2 separate regions of the Homo sapiens genome follow, and region 2 is linked to region 1. The links are contacts of gene promoters, found by promoter capture Hi-C in human tissues and cell types (Jung and others, 2019). All regions are on one chromosome and are shown on one strand. Each heading gives the region's core, a stretch centred on a gene start or on the middle of the fragment in contact. The rest is flanking DNA. Distances are from core to core; before and after follow the strand shown.

Region 1 (4,938 bases), core at 2,102-4,601:
ACAGGGTCTCACTTTGTTACCCAGGCTGGTCTTGAACTCTTGGCCTCAAGTGATCCTCCCACTCTGGCCTCCCAAAGTTCTGGGAGTACAGGCATGCATGAGCCACCACGCCCAGCCTCACCTCATTTTTCTGAAAACCTTATAGGGCAAATGTTATTGTTACAAAACTATACAAATGTGGAAGCTGAAGCTCAAAGGGGTTATATAAGTTGGCCAAGGTCACACAGAAAAGTATCTTACATCAGAGCAGTGCCTTAAACCATGTTTTTCTGTCGGCTCCCTAGCCTCCAAGGGGCACCTAGCCATGTAGCAGAGTGCTCTAGACCCCTGAGCATGAGCTGCCATGGAGTGGTCCCCATCCCAGCTCTGCTACCCAGAGGCAGCATGTAAGCACCTATGAAAACAATATTCCACCTTACTGGTGGTCATAAAGTGCTAACTAAAACCAGGAGTTACAACTTAGACCTAATAAATTTAAAAGTGATGGCATCTAATTCTGGTGAAGATACAGTGAAAAGGACATTCACATATACTGTTGGTGGAGGATAAACTGATACAATGCCTTGGGAAAATAATTTGGCGAAATGTATACAAAGCCATGAAAAGTTCACTTGCCAGCTGGTGTGGTGGCTCACGCCTGTAATCCCAGCACTTTGGGAGGTCAAGGCAGGTGGATCACTGGAGGTCAGGAGTTCGAGACCAGCCTGGCCAACATGGTGAAACCCTGTCTCTACTAAAAATACAAAAATTAGCTGGGCGTGGTGGTGCGTGCCTGTAATCCCAGCTACTCGGGAGGCTGAGATAGGAGAATTGCTTGAACCCAGGAGGTGGAGGTTGCAGTGAGCCAAGATCGCATCACTGTGCTCCAGCCTGGGAGACAGAGTGAGACTCCATCTCAAAAACAAAACAACAACCAAAAAAGAAAAGAAAAGAAAAGAAAAGAAAAGTTCACATGCCTTCACTCAGTAATTCCACTTCTGGGTCTCTCCCCTGTGAAAATAGTCAGAAACACATGAAAACAAAGACCTTTCTGAACTAAATTTATCTATACCATAGTGAATACTGGAAGCATCATTTATATCTGGGGACCAAGCAAGGCCAATGTAACTACAGACTCAAACTTTAAACTGCTTTTGGTAATAACTTAAATTAAAAAAAAAAAGAAAAACCCCAGAATATAAAATTGTGTTTATTCATTCATTCTTTCTTTTCTTTTCTTTCCCTTATTTTTTTCTTTTTTTGAGACAAGGTCTCCCTCTGTTGCCCAGGCTGGAAGGCAGTGGCATGATCATAGCTCACTACAGCCTCCACCTCCCAAACTCAAGTGAGCCTCTCACTTCAGCCTCTCGAGCAGTTGGGACTGCAGGCATGCACCACACCATGCTTGGCTAATTTTTAAATTTTTTGTTCAGATGGGCTCTAGTTATGTTGCCCAGGCTGGTCTTGAACTCCTGAGCTTAAGCAATCCTCCCACATCAGACTCCCAAAATGCTGGGATTATAGACATGAGCCACCCCATTTGGCTTAAAATTGTGTACATTCTAATAGTACAGCTATAGATAAATACACAATGAAAAGGTGAAAAGAGGTTGGGCATGGTGGCTCATGCCTGCGGTCCCAGCACTTTGGGAGGCCGAGGCAGGTGGATCATCTCAGGTCAGAATTTCGAGACCTGCCTGGCCAGCATGGCGAAACCCCATCTCCACTAAAAAAATACAAAAATTAGCTGGGCTTGTGGTGTACGCCTGTAGTCCCAGCTACTTGGGAGGCTGAGGTGGGGAGAATTGCTTGAACCCGGGAGGTGGAGGTTGCGGTGAGCGGAGATGGCACCATTGCACACCAGTCTGGGTGACAGGGCGAGACTCCGTCTCAAAAAAAAAAAAAAAAAAAAAGAAAAGATGAAAAGAAAATGCGCCAAAATGTTAAAAGCGGAGTAAGCAAAGTTTCCTTCAAATTTAAAATAATGGATATATGTATATATGGGCAAAATTTATTTATGATAGAGGTCAGACTAGTGGTAACTTTGAGTATTGACTGAGAAGGAGTACATGGGACGCTGGAGATGGTTTTTTGTTTTTTTTTTTGAGATAGAGTTTCGCTCTTGTTGCCCAGGCTGGAGTGCAATGGCACGATCTCGGCTCACTACAACCTCTGCCTCCTGGCTTCAAGCGATTCTCCTGCCTCAGCCTCCTGAGTAGCTGGGATTACAGGCATGTGCCACCATGCCTGGCTAGTTTTGTATTTTTAGTAGAGACGGGGTAATAATATTGGTTAGGCTGGTCTCAAACTCCTGACCTCAGGTGATCTGCCCGCTTCGGCCTCCCAAAGTGCTGGGATTACAGGTGTATCCTTGTAAGTTAAAAAAACTTTTTAAAAAATGTTTTTTAAAAATAGAGACAGAGTCTATTTACCCAGGCTAGGTCTCACTATTTGCCCAGGCTGGTCTCAAACTCCTGGGCTCAAGTAATCCTCCCACCTCAGCCTCTCAAAGTGCTGGAATTACAGGCATGAGCTACCATGCCTAACCCACTGGAAATGTTCTAGATGTTGATCTGGATAATGGTTACCATATATATATATATAATAATTAGTATAATAGATATAATTATACAGTGAAGATGTGTGCACCTTGCTGTATACATCTTATACCTCAGTAAACTTTTGTTAATGTATTAGATTGTTTTCACAGTAAAAAGTGTAGTACTCATTTTAAAAAGAAAGATATTGGGGAGAAATTTGAAGGTGGTAAAGAGGTTCATGTAGCAGAGAGGGGGCAGAGACAGGCCTCCTGCTTAGGAGAAGGAAAGAAGGATGGAAGGAAGGAAAAAGGTGGGAAGGAAGAAAAGATGTGGCCATGTTCTCAGACCCCTTCACCTGTGCCGGGAGGCAGGAAATACAGAGAAGCCCTGAGGTTCAGGGAGGCTAAAGGACTTGTCCAGACTCCCAGCTGGTAGATGGTTTAGTGTCCTGAAACCCTACCCTCCATTTGCCCAGGCCTTGTCTAAGTGCTCCTGCCCTGCTGTCCCCAGGAGAGGTTGAACTGGGGCCTGTCCCTCCATCCCTTGTGCCCGTCTTGCCTGACACTCTCGGGAAGGGGTGGGGGTCTTACCCAAGGCCGTCTGCGCCATCAGGCAGAGGGTGAGGCTCCAGCACAGAATCCACCTCATGCTCCAGCCAGCTCCTGCTGTGGGCAGGAGTGATGGCAACACTGTGGATGGCAACACTGTGGATGGCATGGTAGCCGTGTCTACAGTGTGTGAGCACACTTTTATCTGCTCTTAATCCCTGCCAGCAAGTACTGGGGCGGGAGGAATTGTAACCAGCTTCTGACCAGCCCACAGCCTTGTCTCTGCCTTGGGCAACAGGTCACGCTAGATGATCTTGGCTCTTCAAACTGATCAGCCTGCAATCTCCGCCCCGTTTGCTCATCTGTGCAGTGGCTTAAAGCTGAACATGTGTGAGTCAAGGTCTAAGCATACAGTGGGTGCCAAGATTGAAGTAGAACACCTGGTTACTTGGCCCTTCAGCCAGGGCTTCCTGTCTGTGGATTTAAGGGTCTTGGGCCTCCCTGCTCCCCAGTGCCTCGTCTAGCCTCTTCCCTGCCTTTCCTCGCACATGCTGACCCTTGGCTGTCCTCACAGTTTCATAGTCCACATGCGGAAGCTGGACCTGAAAGCAACCGTAATGTGGGAGCCCAGAGGGGCACCCGAGGAGTGAGCCCAGAGCCGGGTGGTGGGAATGAAGATTCCCTGGAAAAGATCTAATCTTCTAAGTAAAGGATGAGGAGGAGTGGGCCAGGCAAAGAAAGATCCTGTTTGAAGTTTGGAGCCACAGGAGCAAGTGTGGGAGGTGGAAGCAAGGAGACAGCAGTCCCATCTTCAGTCAAAGGTAAGATGGGGCTGGGTGTGGTGGCTCATGCCTGTAATACCAGCACTTTGGAAGGCTGAGGCAGGTGGATCACCTGAGGTCAGGAGTTCGAGACCAGCCTGGCCAACATGGTGAAACCCCGTCTCTACTAAAACAAAGAATACAAAAATTAGCTGGGCGTGGTAGTGTGTGCCTGTAGTCCCAGCTACTCAGGAGGCTGAGGCAGGAGGATGGCTTGAACCTGGGAGGCGGAGGTTGTAGTGAGCCGAGATCGGGCCACTGCACTCCAGCCTGGGTGACAGAGTGAGACCCTGTCTCAAAAATAAATAGGCCAGGCACGGTGGCTCATGCCTGTAATCCCAACACTTTGGGAGGCTGAGGCAGGCGGGTCACGAGGTCAGAAGATCGAGACCATCCTGGCTAACACCCCGTCCCTACTAAAAATACAAAAAATTATCCGGGCGTGGTGGCACGCGCCCGTAGTTCCAGCTACTCAGGAGGCTGAGGCAAGAGAATTGCTTGAAACCAGGAGGCGGAGCTTGCAGTGAGCCAAGATGGCGTCACTGTACTCCAGCCTGGGCGACAGAGTGAGACTCCATCTCAAAGAACAAAAAAAAGGTAAGATGTTTCCTCTCTCGTGTACCCCCAAAGTCTGGGGTCCTGGCCCATCTTTGTGAAAAGAGGGTCTGTTGGGCTTCTGTGCTGGGGAGGGGAAAAGGCAGGGGAACAGAGAACTTCTCCCTTGGCCCACAGCCTCTTGCTCTATAGGCCTGACAGATGGTTAAACCTCCTTCTTTCACAGTCAATTTTCTGAGTTCTTCGGAGATGCTCTTTATTTGGGACTCCTCTCCCACAGTTCCCATCCTTGTGACCCTTCCTCAGTCCCAAGGAATGTGGCATTCACTGCCCAATCATTGCTGCCTGGGCTCTGTGCTCCTCTAATGAAGGCCCAAGATGACCCCCCACCCCTGCCTCTGCCACTTATCCTGTGGGGTCTACATGGGCAAACCTCCAATATCCCTTGCCCCACCTCAGCAGAGGTGTGGCCCATCCCATTGCAGCCCCTTCTGC
Region 2 (5,002 bases), core at 1,730-4,229, 100 kb before region 1:
AAAGGAATGCACTTTCCCCAAACTCATTAAAAAGGTTAAAAAGCAGCCATAAAAAAGAATGAGTTCATGTCCTTTGCAGGGACATGGATGAAGCTGGAAGCCATCATTCTCAGAGAACTAACACAGCAACAGAAAACCAAACACTGCATGCTCACACTCATAAGTGGGAGTTGAACAATTAGAACACATGGACACAGGGAGGGGAACATCACACACAGGGAAGGGAATGTCACACACAGGGGCCTGTCAAGGGGTAGGGGGGAAGGGGAGGGAGAGCATTAGGAAAAATACCTAATGCATGCAGGGCTTAAAACATAGATGACTGGGAGGCTGAGGCAGGAGAATCGCTTGAACCCGGGAGGTGGAGGTTGTGGTGAGCCGAGATCGTGCAATTGCACTCCAGCCTGGGCAACAAAGGCGAAACTCTGCCTCAAAAAACAAACAAACAAACAAACAAACAACAACAACAACAAAACCTAGATGATGGGTTGATAGATGCAGCAAACCACCATGGCACAGGTATACCTATGTAACAAACCTGCACATTCTGCGCATGTATCACAGAACTTAAAGTAAAATTAAAAAAAAATTTTAAAAAGGGTAAAAAAAAGTCAGCAGACAATTATAAACATCTGTCAGATAAGCAGACTGCGAGAGCTGTTCCAACAGGCATGTCAAAAAATATAGTTCTTACAAAGTATGCAACCTAAGGAAAACTTCAAATATAAAGTAACATTTTAAAATGAAATAGTGGGAATAATCTGCATTTCTGGGCTTGGACCATGATGGCCCTACCACTTCAGCTATGTCACCTTAGGCAAGTTTCTTATCCTCTCTTAGCCTCGGTTCCTCAAAATGAAGAGGTAACTTACAAGAGCATTTAAAGATCAAATATAAAGCCAAAATTATAATGTACACTGCCTGGCACATAGGATGCACTCATGATGCTGTTATTATAACAAAGCTGTTCATCACTTCCCATTTCCATTTATGAACTTTTCAAATAACTATTCAAATGTTGAAAAATCCATATCCTGCAGATAGAATAATTTTTAGAAACTAAAACAAGGCTAAAACAAAAATAAATCTTAATAAAGTCTATTGCTCCTCTGATAGAGAACCAAGACTCTCTTCCTCTGGTAGTGGGGGAAGTCAGATTTCGTATCCTTTTCCTCCTTCATTAATCTTCTTCCGATTCTCATTCTCAGTCTGAGTTCATACTCCCAGTTCATTCTCATCTACTGCCATTACCCAAAACACAACCCAGGAAGGCCTAGCACAGACATATTCTCATGCTGATTTATCCATACACAAGAAAGAATATTGGTAGAGTTAAATAATTTGAAAACTGAAGTCTTCGGAAATTTAAAATAAATAGAGGCTGAGATTTTTTTCTTGGACCACACAGAATTGAAGGCCCCAAAACTATGCAAAATACAAATACAAAAACCACATAAAACTTTTTGCCTGTTTTTATTTCCAAATAGTTTCCACATAAAATTCTATGATTTGAATTGTATTAAAATTGCTCATAGTAGGATAAACAATAATTTACCCATTCTCTGACATTAAAGACAACCATTTATTTGCTGCCACTTTATAATCTAACCAAATGTAGGCATTTTTAAGATAATAGAGAAAATATCTTTAAGCACCCTGTCACCTTGGAGCTGAGTTAAAAGCCAAGAGTGCTATATTACAGTTTTAGGTCAAAAGGCCAATCAAGTTGAAGGCAGTCTCTGGAAACAGAGACTAGTGTACAAGTTGCTATCTTTCTAACTCAACTATGATCAGAGCATGAAATCTGTCCTTTATTAACCTCCATCTTCCTTCACAAAAGACATTTGAATTAGTTATAGACATATATACCCCAAAAAGAAAGGTCATGGGAAACATGTCAACATTTTCAGATCAAGGAAGGATTCTCAGACAGAAAAGGTGCTAGGATGCTTCTATATAGCAACAGATGCCAATGGAGAGCATTTCACAAAAGTAACGTCTGTGATTATTTTTTATTTTTAAAAGCCTTCTTTTTATACAAGTACAGAATAGTGCCCAAATTGTTAAGTATGTAATGAAGAATTTTCACAAAGCGAACACACCCACCTAACTAGCACCCAGGTCAAGAACTAACATTACCAGAACATGGGAAGTTCTCTTCATACCCACTTCTAGTCACTACTCAATCCCCACAGTAACTGGTAGCCTCCAACAGAGCCAAGAAAAGTCCAAAATCCTTTACTGGTTGTTTTAAAAAACCAAACCAACCAACCAAACAAAAAACACCAGAATCTAAAATGGCTTGGCAAAATAGTATCTTCGACTTTCATAGTCTAAAGTTAGGATATGACTACTTTTACTGTTTTCCTGCCACTCCAGATATATTGTGAGCCAAGTACACAGAAAGAAGGGGTAAAGAAACTGGCTTCCACTGAGTCCCCATTCTAAGCCTCAGATACTGAGCTCTGCAACAACCTGGGAGGGAGTTTTTACTGATGAGGCTCAATGAGAATAAGCAACTTTCTCAATGCTATATGGCAACAAGTAGTGGAGCCGGGATGCAAAACCTTGTGCTCATTCCACTACATCCAGAGTCCTCATTATGTTCTGCCACCCACTGGGTTCCGTAAAAACACCCCCAGGGACACCAGAGGGAGACCAGAACAATCCCTACCCTGGCTTTGCCCAGAGCAGTGCCTTTTAAAAAAACTGTTTTATACAGTGGGGCTCTGTATACAATTTCAAATGGAGGAAGGGTTTCACATAAAAAACAGCCTATATGCCAGAGAATAGAGATAGCAAGGTCTAGAATCTTCTGTTTTCATTATTCTGTGTAATACTGAAAGCAAATTTTATTTTTTTCTAAATAATTAATGATACAAAATTCATAAGGTACAGAAGATACACAGTGAAAAATAATAATTTGCTTATTTTGTCCCCCAGGTACCTGGTTCTCCCCCATAGTTTCTAGTTCCAGTTTCTTAGATATTCTACTAGAGAATGACTATGCACATTTAAACAAAAATTACCCACAGAGTAGGAAAAATACCCAGAGAGTAAGATATTATACACAGTACTGTGTACCTTATGTATATCATTTTAATGTATATCAATGACAAGAGTATTTGGTAAAGGTTACTAACATAAACAATGCTTCTTCATTTCACTATAGTTTCTCATTTCAAGTTAATGATAATCTGCCATTACCTCTGAAAGGTAAAGAAAATATTGTACTACTGAAATAGGCTGTTCCAGAAAAATGAGAAAAAGAAAACACTAAATCCTATCATGAAGGATCGAAAACTTTCTAAATTTTACACATGGTGAAATGGAAGAATGCTCAAGGAATTTTATAACTAGTTTCAGGTTAAAAGACACTGTTGAAAATCAAAACCCCTTGGGCCACCAACCACTTGGAGTTCTGCTTCCCCCCTTAGTAATCTTAACCTTACACATAGATTAAATACTCACGAGCACCACTGTTACAAGTTTAGCATGGCAGGGCTGGAGGCCTCAGAAGTTATCCAAACAGTGGAGGACATCCCTAAACCTCTGTGCTGCTAGGATCTCAAGCTTCCACAGGCCGTTTACTGACTTGCTGCCACCCATGAGTTACCACTGTTCTCTGGCCCTCCTCTCCAGTCAGGCATCAGGACCACCCACTAGAACCATTATTTTTCTTTTCTGCCTCAGCCTTTTCTATTCCAGGCAAAACGGTTCTTAATCTCTCCTGGCAGATTTTATTTTTCAGCTTAAGCATCTTTACGGGTGGTGTGGAAATTAATTTCCCAGCGCTAAGCTGTATTTGTGCAGGCCTCCTGGTTAGGAAACTGGTTTAAATACTCACTGTTTCTTCCATTAACCAAATATTTGAGGGAGAGCAAGTCAATTAATTTTTTGGAGACTCTCAGTTTTATCAACTGTAATAATGTTAGATTAGATGATGTTTGAATCTCTAAAGATAATCTGAATCACAGAGGGGAAACAACATTTTTCTCCAATATTCTCTTTTTAGGAAAAAGAAGGTAAACTGCAAGAAAATAAGGTGACATTAGGAATTTTTTATGGATGGAAAAAAAAGACAAAGAAGCAAAATATATACACGCTAAGTGCCAAAAGACACACAAACCCCAAACTCCCCTATGTGATTGCCAGTGCATGTGCTGGAGTCAGATTCCAGCCCAATTTTCCAGATGACAGTTCTCTACAAGAACTGATGTTTTAAATTACTGCCATAAGGGACTACAGGATCTTAAATCATTGATGAAAATATAACTCTTTTCTCTATGCTCTAGGTCATAATGTAGGGAAAGTGCCTTGATACACTTCAGAGAACTAAAAGGATGTTCTTGTTAGCCAAATAATTCAATTAACTGGAACCAGCATTATGGTGGAGCTTTTAGTGCTAAAAAGAAGTACTTCAGAGCTATTATTTACTGTAGGCATACACATACCAAGCATCATACTAAGTGCTTTACAAGCATTTTCCCATTTAATACTCAAATTCTGTGAGAAAATTAGGGCTCTTGAGGCAAGTGACGGAGCAGGAATCTCAACTAGGCCTGACTACAAAGCCCATGCTCTCAATCACTGACAAAAAAACAAGTAGAAACAATCTATCTGAGCAACAAATTATGTGACACTTCTATCAACAGACTATATTTCTGTTCATATATACATATAAACTCACATACCAAAATATTCTTCCAACATTTTAAATTAGAAAAATCAAATTAACAATGTATTTATTTCTTTTTGTGGGGTCAGGGAGACAGGGTCTTGCTCTGTTGCCCAGGCTGGAGTGCAGTGTCACAATCATAGTTCACTACAGCCTTGACCTCCTGGGCTCAAGCGATCCTCCCACCTAGCCTCCCAAGTAGCTGGGAACACAGGCACATGCTACCATGCCTAGCTAGTTTTTAAATTTTTTGTAGAGACAAAGTCTTGCTGTGTTGCCCAGGCTGGTCTTGAACTCCTGGGCTCAAGCAATCCTCCCTCAGCC

The links. Contacts are between HindIII fragments. The study calls those that stand out against the background at their distance.
Region 2: a fragment that was not itself captured here is called in contact with the fragment with the promoter of CES4A in region 1 in 5 of the 25 tissues and cell types used here (aorta, dorsolateral prefrontal cortex, lymphoblastoid cells and 2 more).

The regions. Positions count from the first base shown.
Region 1 is chr16:66,987,002-66,991,939 of GRCh38, reverse strand. CES4A (carboxylesterase 4A) reads right to left here and starts at 3,351. Exons shown (of 14, transcript NM_001364782.1): 1 at 3,110-3,351. The coding sequence starts at 3,167. RefSeq lists a silencer at 20-314. The HindIII fragment of the contact is 42,626 bases long and covers 1-4,938 here.
Region 2 is chr16:67,087,321-67,092,322 of GRCh38, reverse strand. All of the region lies in intron 5 of CBFB (core-binding factor subunit beta), which reads right to left. Among named protein-coding and RNA genes, the nearest start is that of PHAF1, 20 kb to the left of the region's middle. The HindIII fragment of the contact is 5,567 bases long and covers 196-5,002 here.